2 separate regions of the Homo sapiens genome follow, and region 2 is linked to region 1. Evidence: promoter capture Hi-C in 16 types of primary human blood cells and fetal thymus (Javierre and others, 2016). All regions are on one chromosome and are shown on one strand. Each heading gives the region's core, a stretch centred on a gene start or on the middle of the fragment in contact. The rest is flanking DNA. Distances are from core to core; before and after follow the strand shown.

Evidence for each region. Contacts are between HindIII fragments. The CHiCAGO score rates a contact against its expected background, and 5 or more counts as called.
Region 2: a fragment that was not itself captured here is called in contact with the fragment with the promoter of CCDC88C in region 1 in 1 of 17 cell types (total CD4 T cells); the score reaches 5.1 in total CD4 T cells.

Annotation. Positions count from the first base shown.
Region 1 is chr14:91,415,361-91,419,627 of GRCh38, reverse strand. CCDC88C (coiled-coil domain containing 88C) reads left to right here and starts at 1,808. Exons shown (of 30, transcript NM_001080414.4): 1 at 1,808-1,997; 2 at 2,790-2,890. The coding sequence starts at 1,938. It overlaps CCDC88C-DT (CCDC88C divergent transcript), which reads right to left and starts at 1,382. Exons shown (of 3, transcript NR_184261.1): 1 at 1,288-1,382. It also overlaps the pseudogene LOC112268126. RefSeq lists enhancers at 393-442, 683-1,327, 2,933-3,222, 3,233-3,362, 3,753-3,882 and a silencer at 1,393-2,312. The HindIII fragment of the contact is 7,798 bases long and covers 1-4,267 here.
Region 2 is chr14:90,899,669-90,903,880 of GRCh38, reverse strand. It overlaps RPS6KA5 (ribosomal protein S6 kinase A5), which reads left to right. Exons shown (of 17, transcript NM_004755.4): 9 at 912-1,073; 10 at 3,145-3,270; 11 at 3,640-3,773. Among named protein-coding and RNA genes, the nearest start is that of LINC02321, 74 kb to the right of the region's middle. The HindIII fragment of the contact is 2,511 bases long and covers 1,237-3,747 here.

The DNA of each region.
Region 1 (4,267 bases), core at 559-3,058:
GCTGTTAAGACATTCTTTCAATGCAGAATTTTCTTTCCAGCATTTTACTACCATAAGGATTCCAGAGTTCTTGCAACATTTGGTAAAATCTTGAACTTGTCAGAAGACCTCTCTCTGGCCTTTTCTCTCATTATTTTAGGGATCAAAACATCTTTTTCGACACGTCTGAGCTGCTGCTCCAAAAACCTGTAGTGTCTTCCCATTGTTTTTGGTATAAAAATCAAACTCCTTGAAATGGTTTACAGGACATTTCATGATTCACAACTGAAACTCCTCCACAGCGATGGCACACACTCCTCTTTGATCTCAATTCTTCTTTCTTGTGGTCTTTGCTTAAACCACTGTTCTTTAAATTTCACAGAGCAACCATCAGAGTTGTTAAATTAATCCGCGGGGTCGAGTGCCATCGCGGCGGGCGGAGAAGCAATTAAGGAACTTCTCTAATGAACTTCTGGTGCACAACAAAACCATGTAGTCTCGAAATTTTAGTTCCTCCGCAGTCCCCCATTGTGTTTTATGCTACCCCGCCTTCCACAGTCTCTAGGGACCCCTAACCGACCCCCTTGGCTCTCAGGCCATAATCTCACAACCCTCCCCAGCCCAACGGGGTCCGCCAGCGCTGGGCTGTAATACCACTCGCCACCAGCAGATGCCGCAGCCCCAACGCTGCACAGAGCCAACTTTCAAAATTACCACCGAGCCTGTCGGCAGCCATTTAGTGCCTGCTGTATACTTGCCAAGCGCCACGCAGGGCCCTTCGGGTCAACCCTGTACCAGTTGGCCCAGCTGCGAAATGCGGCGATCGTTAGGGTTAAATTAGTAAAATGGTCTACAGTGCTTTGAACAATGACCGGCTGGTGGTGTGAAATTATTACCAGGCCGAGACCAGCCTGGAGCCGGCTCCTGCCTCGTGCCGTCCCGCAAGGAGGTCCTGCCCCCGGGCTTGCCTTCCAGCCAGTTGGGGCCTTTGCCCTTTTTCCTGTCGCCTGCCACTAAGCTGCTGCTAGGAACCCCGGCTGGAATTTAGCTCGCCTCCGGCAAAGTGGTGGGGGCGGGCCCGGGTCGGGGAGGCCACATCACCTGCTTCCTGCAGGAACTTTTAGAAGGCAGGCAGCCCGGAACATGGCACGGTGGGGCACGGTAGGGCGCGAGGGGCCGCGCCCCTAAGGCCTAAACTCAACATAAAGTTTCTTCTTTGCCCTCCAGCCCAGCCCCAGGGTCGGGGCGCGTTTATCGCGCCGCGCACAAGCGTGAGGAGCGGGGGTTTGCGGGGCCTCTTGACTGTACCTGGGGCTGCACCTGCCAGGAGTGCGGAAAGGCGCAGGGCCGAGGTCCCCAAGCCCAGAGCGGGCGGCAGCTGCGGGCGACCTCGGAGGGCAGAGCAACCTCGGAGGGCAGGGCGTCCCCGCTCCCGGCACGCACCAGTGCCCGCGCACCCCAGCTCGCACGTGGCGCTCGGGCCCCGGCTGCACGCGCACGCGCGCAGGGATGCGCCACGTGCTGGGGCCCCACACGCGGGGAGGCTGCGCTCGGCGAGGGCGCGCGGTCCCACGGGCGGGGAGCCGGGCCCCGCGACCCACCCGCCTCGGGCCACCAGTCCCCTCCCAGCGCCCCGCGTAGCCTGGTCCCGCGCCCGGGCTCCCGGGCTCCCGGGCTGGCACCGCGAGGCGGCGCGCCGGTCGCCCAGGGCCGCCGAGGGGCGGGGCCGCCCGTATTGTTCCTCCCCGAGCGGCTGGCCCTCCCCTTCCCCCAGACCCGGGCGGGGCGCGGGGCCGCCGAAGCCGCGGAACGTGGGCTCGCGCGCCCCGCCTTTGTCTCCCGGGCGCGAGCCGCCGCAGCCCCGCGCCCGCTGCTCGCTGCGGAGCCGTTTTGTGCCGCGGCGCGGGGGAACGGGGACGCGGGGCGGGGGGCGCGGAGCCGGCGGGCGCAGCCTCAGCATGGACGTGACAGTCTCGGAGCTCCTGGAGCTCTTCCTGCAGAGCCCGCTGGTGACCTGGGTGAGTGCGCCTGGCTCCCCGCCCCTTTGTTGGTGCACCGGCTTCTCTCTAGCCCGGCGACGGGACGCCGCAGACCCGACACGGCCGGGGCCCCGGGTGGCTCCGGGGCGCGAGGGACGCAGCAAGTGGCTCCCGGCCGGGGTTGGGGCCGCGTCCTGGAGTCCGGAGCTTTGTAACTCTGGAGCCGGCGCCCCCGTTGTGCGTCCGGCGCGGGACCCCGCCGCGCTTTCGGCCGGGCCAGGAGCCGGGCGGGTACACCTGTTCCCGCTGGGGCTCTAGGCTGGCTGCCTCGGGGCGGACCGGGTCCCAGTGGTCACTCCTGTCCCTGGGGTTTAGCCACTCCCGAAAAGGACCCCATTCTTCCCAACCAAATATCTCATGTAGTTTTTCTGAATCCCTGAGACCAGCCGGTGGATGGCGGTGACGGGTGGGGAATGGGGGGCGCCGAATGGGAAAGCGAACAGACTGGGGTGGGCGCACTGATTTACAATGGATTTGAGACGTGAGACATTTATTGAAAAGTCCTTTTTATTTTTATTTCTTCCGCTCTGGAACGCGGGAGAAAAGTGGCGAGGAAGTTTTTCCTCCTGTCTCGTGTCTGTTGCCCCGCGCGGGGAGGGGAGACAGGCCCTAGGAGAAGGCCGGGCTTGGTGCCTGCTGAAGGGTGGTGTGGGCGTGGGTGACCCCCTTCTGCTCACACTGACCCGTCCAGTCTCTGCCTGGGAGAGCTTTGGACCGTTTGTGCGCACGGGGTGACTTCCTGTCTTTCTCTCCTCGTCCCCCTCCCCGCAGGTGAAAACTTTTGGCCCGTTTGGAAGCGGCAGCCAGGACAACCTGACTATGTACATGGATTTAGTGGACGGCATCTTTTTGAACCAAATTATGCTGCAAATGTAAGTTACCTTCTTCTCGGAGGAAGGAAAGAATGGTGCGTTAGAAAGTTTGAGAGTAGAAATGGAGTGGAAGGTTGCATGGCGGGGTGTGTGTGGGGTGGGGGGTAGTTCTCTGAAGGTGGAGACGCTGGTATCTCAGTATTAACGTGCCTGTTGGACATTCGTAGGTGTTTGAAGAACTCCAGGACAGTGGGTCTGGCAGTTGGTTTGATGAAGGAAATTTGGAATTGAATGACTGTCATTTACGTGGTGTAGATAGTGCAATTGACTTCAGACTCAAGGACTTAATTGTGGTTTGAGCAATGAAATGAAAAAGTCCCCTTTTGGAGGGCAAGGAACTGTAACGGAGAGTGTCTGGTTACAGGAAGTGTCGGGGTGGGCCCAGGCATCCGAGGGTTACTGTAAAGTTTCATTTTAGATGAGGGTGTCTGTGTTTCTGAGCTCCTTTACATTTCATCTTCCTTTTTCAGTTGCCCCAAAGCAAGTGCAATTCATTAAGTCCTACTGTATGGACTGAGTTTAAAGTCACAGTGTTAGGAGGGTCCCATGGTGCTGTTTGTTTGGAAGCATGCAGCCTGAACAGGGTCTTAGTAGAAGTTACTCTTGCCAGCGAGTACATCTGACCACATCCTTTCCTGTTGCTGAGCTCTGCACGGCCTGATTGACAGCTTGCCACAACGTAGGTGTTGGCTTCTACCTTTGCATTCTGTTTTTAACTCAAACTGCAGGGAACATTGGAACTGAGTGTCGGGATGATTCACAGGCACTTGAAGCAAAATAAAACATCCTAATGTTCTCTGTGGATCAGCCTCGTGTGCGCACCTATTCACCTACGACTGAGCAAGTTGTCATACTGGAGCATAAATCTATTAGCTAATGAGAGATCAGCTTCGTTTGTGGCTCACAAAGGCAGAGGAGCAGTTTGCTTTGGCATATCCAGAAAGTGGCTTATATAGATTGCCTTAAACAGCCTGTTTAGAAAAAAATAATTCAAGAACCTTGCTTTTTTTTTTTTTGGAGACGGAGTTTCGCTCTTGTTGCCCAGGCTGGAGTGCAATGGCGTGATCTCAGCTCACCACAACCTCCGCCTCCCGGGTTCAAGCGATTATCCTACCTCAGCCTCCCGAGTAGCTGGGATTGCAGGCATGCGCCACCACGCCCGGCTAATTTTGTATTTTTAGTAGAAATGGGGTTTCTCCATGTTAGGCTGGTCTCGAACTCCCGACCTCAGGTGATCCGCCTGCCTTGGCCTCCCAAAGTGCTGGGATTACAGGCATGAGCCACTGTGGTGCCCGGCCTCCTTTTATTTTAATAAGTCATTTGATGTCATGCTGTTTAATGGTTTTTGCTTTTTTTTTTTTAAAGTTCACAGCTGTG
Region 2 (4,212 bases), core at 1,243-3,742, 520 kb after region 1:
ACTGAAATCAGTATGCATGTTACAGTGGCCATCATCTTATATTCTTATGATTAATACTTTTTTCTTCTTAATGATACATAAAATAATTGTGTATCTTACTATCAGTAATGGCATCTTAGATTTGAAAAAATGTGGTAGTAGGAGACCTGTAGGATTTAATTCAGTAAGTGTTATCTGAGATTGTTTTAAATGATAGAAGGAGCACAAAGAAACAGAGCAAAGGGTTGGATTTCAGTAATATAACTCAGTAAGTGACCTAGAGGGAAAAGGGGCTTGCATTATTCTATGGGGGACATAAGAGGCAGTGTTTAAAATGCTTGAACACAGTTGAATAAGAAAAGAGTGATCACATCCATATGATGGTATCATTTGAACTTCTAGACATAAGCACATGCCTGATTTACAGTGGATTTATTTTCCAGTCTGTCTGGATGCCCAGGAGGAAAAGCAAGTGCAGGCAGAGAGCTAAGTAACACTGCCTCTAGAAAATAGGAACATTCTTTTAGAGCTAATATCCACATCTGTAGAGCCTTTGGAAACCCTTTATTTCAGTTTTTTATTTTGTTTTGGGTTTTTTGTTTTCTTTTTGGCTTAACACCTTTCTGAGGAGGCTCAGGACAAAAGTATTCTTCTGTTGTCTTTAAAGGTAAACTAGGGTGTCTTGGTGCCCCCCAGAGGACACTCTGAGATTCAACAGCGATAGTCTCATCTTTGAGGCACAGCATTGGTTGGAGCTATAAACTGCTGTGATCTTGTTTGGAGAAAATATGTTTTTTATTATTGATTTGAAATATGTTCTCTTATTTTTATCCTCTCTCCCTACCAGTCAAAATCCTAATTTATCTTTGTTATTCTTAGAAAGTACATTTTGACTATTGATTTCTACTTTGTACCAACTTTCTTTGTTTTAGAAAATAAATTGGGATGATTTAGCCGCCAAAAAAGTGCCTGCACCATTTAAGCCAGTCATTCGAGATGAATTAGATGTGAGTAACTTTGCAGAAGAGTTCACAGAAATGGATCCCACTTATTCTCCCGCAGCCCTGCCCCAGAGTTCTGAGAAGCTGTTTCAGGTAATTTCCCATCCTGTGCACATGCACATTGGCCATATGTCCTTTGAAAGAAAAGATTAAATTTCCCATATTGAAGTAGTTTTGTTGGCATCATAAAAATGGGATTCTCTAATATCCTCTAAATTATTAAATGCAGAAATATTGCACATTGTTAACCGAAGCTTATAGTTTGCTCAATAGCAGATATTGTTTATGCATTTATTTTTGATATAAGGGAAGTTTTAATTTTATACCTGAAATTTTATTTTTGTTCAGATTCTTTTATAGAAAATACAATAATCTTTTATTTTACCTCTATTCATATTTAAAAATTTTTATTTATATAGACAGGGTCTCACTCTGATGCCCAGACTGGAGTGTAGCAGTGCTGTCCTAGCTCACTGCAGCCTCAGACTCCTGGGCTCAAGTGATCCTCTCACCTTAGCCTCTGGGATAGCTGAGACCACAGGTGCAAACCAGCACACCCAGCTAATTTTTCTATTTTTTGCAGAGATAGGATCTTGCTATGTTGCCTAAGCTGGTCTTGAACTCCTGGCCTCAAGTGATCCTCCTGCCTTGGCCTCCCAAAGTGCTGGCATTACAGGCATGAGCCACCACGTCCAGCCAAAAAAATTTTTTTTTTTTAAGAAACAAGGTCTCACTCTGTCACCCAGGCTGGAGTGCAGTGGCATGATCATAGCTCACTGCAGCCTTTTTAACTGCTTGGCTCAGGGGATCCTCTTGCCTCAGCCTCCTGAATAGCTGGGACCACAGGTGCATGCCACCACACCCACCTAATTAAAAAAAAATTGTAGAAACAGGGTCTTACTTTGTTGCCTAAGCTGGTCTTGAACTCTGGCCTCAAGCGATCCTCCTGCCTTGGCCTCCCAAAGTGCTGGGATTCTAGGCATGAGCCACCGTGCCCCTCAACCCCCATATAAAAACATTCTTTAGTTCACAATGTTACCTTATTCTTTACCTTCAGTAATTAATCTTAACTGCTGTTAAAAAAAGATTTAGATTTTATATTTAGAAAAGGGCATTTGTCACACAAGATAAAATATTCTAACTATTAAATGGCATCAGAGCTTTGCTTCTTTGACTTCTATAAGTATACCTTTAGTATGGCTTAATCTGGCCATCCAGACGGTGTCTTTTCTTCTTTGCTTATCACTGTCTAGTATGTGACTGGGCACTTATTGAACATTTTTTTAAATGTTTGTTGATTAGTGAATGTTCTAGCTTGAACGGATTAATCATCCGTCTTTGTACCACTTAGCTCAGAGCATCATTCTGCCATTAGACTTTGTTCCTTTCCAAAACTCAATTTTAAATTTAATTATTCTGAAGATATTAATAAGAATCAAATAATTGCTAAATTAGAAACTAACTTTAGTGAGACTTGCCATTTTTCCAGTTTGAAAAACAATAGCATTTAAAGACCACTTTGTGGCTGGGTCTGGTGGCTCAGGCCTTTAATCCCAGCACTTTTGGAGGCCGAGGTGGGTTGATCACTTGAGGTCAGGGGTTTGAGACCAGTTCGAGACATGGTGAAACCCCGTCAGGCATGGTGGCATGTGCCTATAATCCCAGCTACTTGGGAGGCTGAGGCAGGAGAATGGCTTGAACGCAGGAGGCAGAAGTTGCAGTGAGCCAAGATCGCACCACTGCACTCCAGCCTGGGCAACAGAGCCAGACTCAATCTCAAAAAAAAAAGACCACTTTGTTTAATACCTTGACTGTATCCTTTTTTGAGAAGTTAGTTATGTTTGTAAACAAATTTCATCAGCAAACCAGGAGAATTTCATCTATGAGTCTGATTTTGGGGGTGGAATAGGGAAGAAGTCTTTTTCTACCTTTATTTTTGAATTGGTTTAGTTCTACCAGAAGATGGCATTATATCCTTCTGAACAGCATTTTTCAAATGATTTGAAATAACCTTGCATTTTAGATTGCAAATAAAATAAAATTAGACTCATCTCAACAAATATTTGAGTGTTTTTCTAAGGAAAAAAAGTCATTACAATCTAATCTGTGTTAAACTGGAAAACTGCAAGTTGTTTTTCTTTATCTTTCTTTGTCTTGTTTTTAGGGCTATTCCTTTGTTGCTCCTTCCATCCTATTCAAGCGTAATGCAGCTGTCATAGACCCTCTTCAGTTTCACATGGGAGTTGAACGTCCTGGAGTGACAAATGTTGCCAGGAGTGCAATGATGAAGGTATATAGATGTGGTAACTTATATGACATATTTGTAGGTTTTGTGAGTGTTTAAATACCAACTCTAATTAATGTTCTTAAGTCTAGTAATTCAACTAAAGTGCAATTTTAAAAGTGGGATATAGCAATATTTTCCCTAGAGAATTAACGTCAAGTTGAATGAACTTCTTTTTACAATTATAGAGAATTATGTATCTTAAATAATTATTTAGATGAAAATAGAAGTTACCTATAAAGATGAATTTTAGATTATAAATGTATTCTATTCCTGTTTATTAATATTAATAATTTTATTTTACTCTACAATTTTATTGATCCTTTGTGTATTACTGACATTTTCTGAAGTTAAATGATGTTGATTTCTTGACAGGACTCTCCATTCTATCAACACTATGACCTAGATTTGAAGGACAAACCCCTGGGAGAAGGTAGTTTTTCAATTTGTCGAAAGTGTGTGCATAAAAAAAGTAACCAAGCTTTTGCAGTCAAAATAATCAGCAAAAGGTATGACCATTTTTAATATAATATTCTTTCTTAGGTATTCATGAATTCTGTAAATTAAAAGATATTTATTTTAATTGAAACCAGTATTATATTGTAAGACTTTCTTACCCAAAGGTTTAACCACTTGGCTCATCAGTTGGTCCATTATACTTTTAGCTCTAATTGATATTTTCTGATAAAGTAATCCATTTTAGACATAAATCATAGTCTTATTTGCTTTTGAGTTTATCTAGAGAAAACGTCTTTGTGACAGTGACATATTTAATCAGGCTCACATAGTGATTTTGGCAGCCATTGCCATTTCTACTAGTTGTGTATTTGAAATATTTTTCTCTAAAATTATTTAGCAAGCTACTGATAGCTTTGAGAGCCATCTAGTTGTTTTGGTAACTGATGATTATTATTAAGATTGCATATTCTTATTACTCTAAATTGTCAG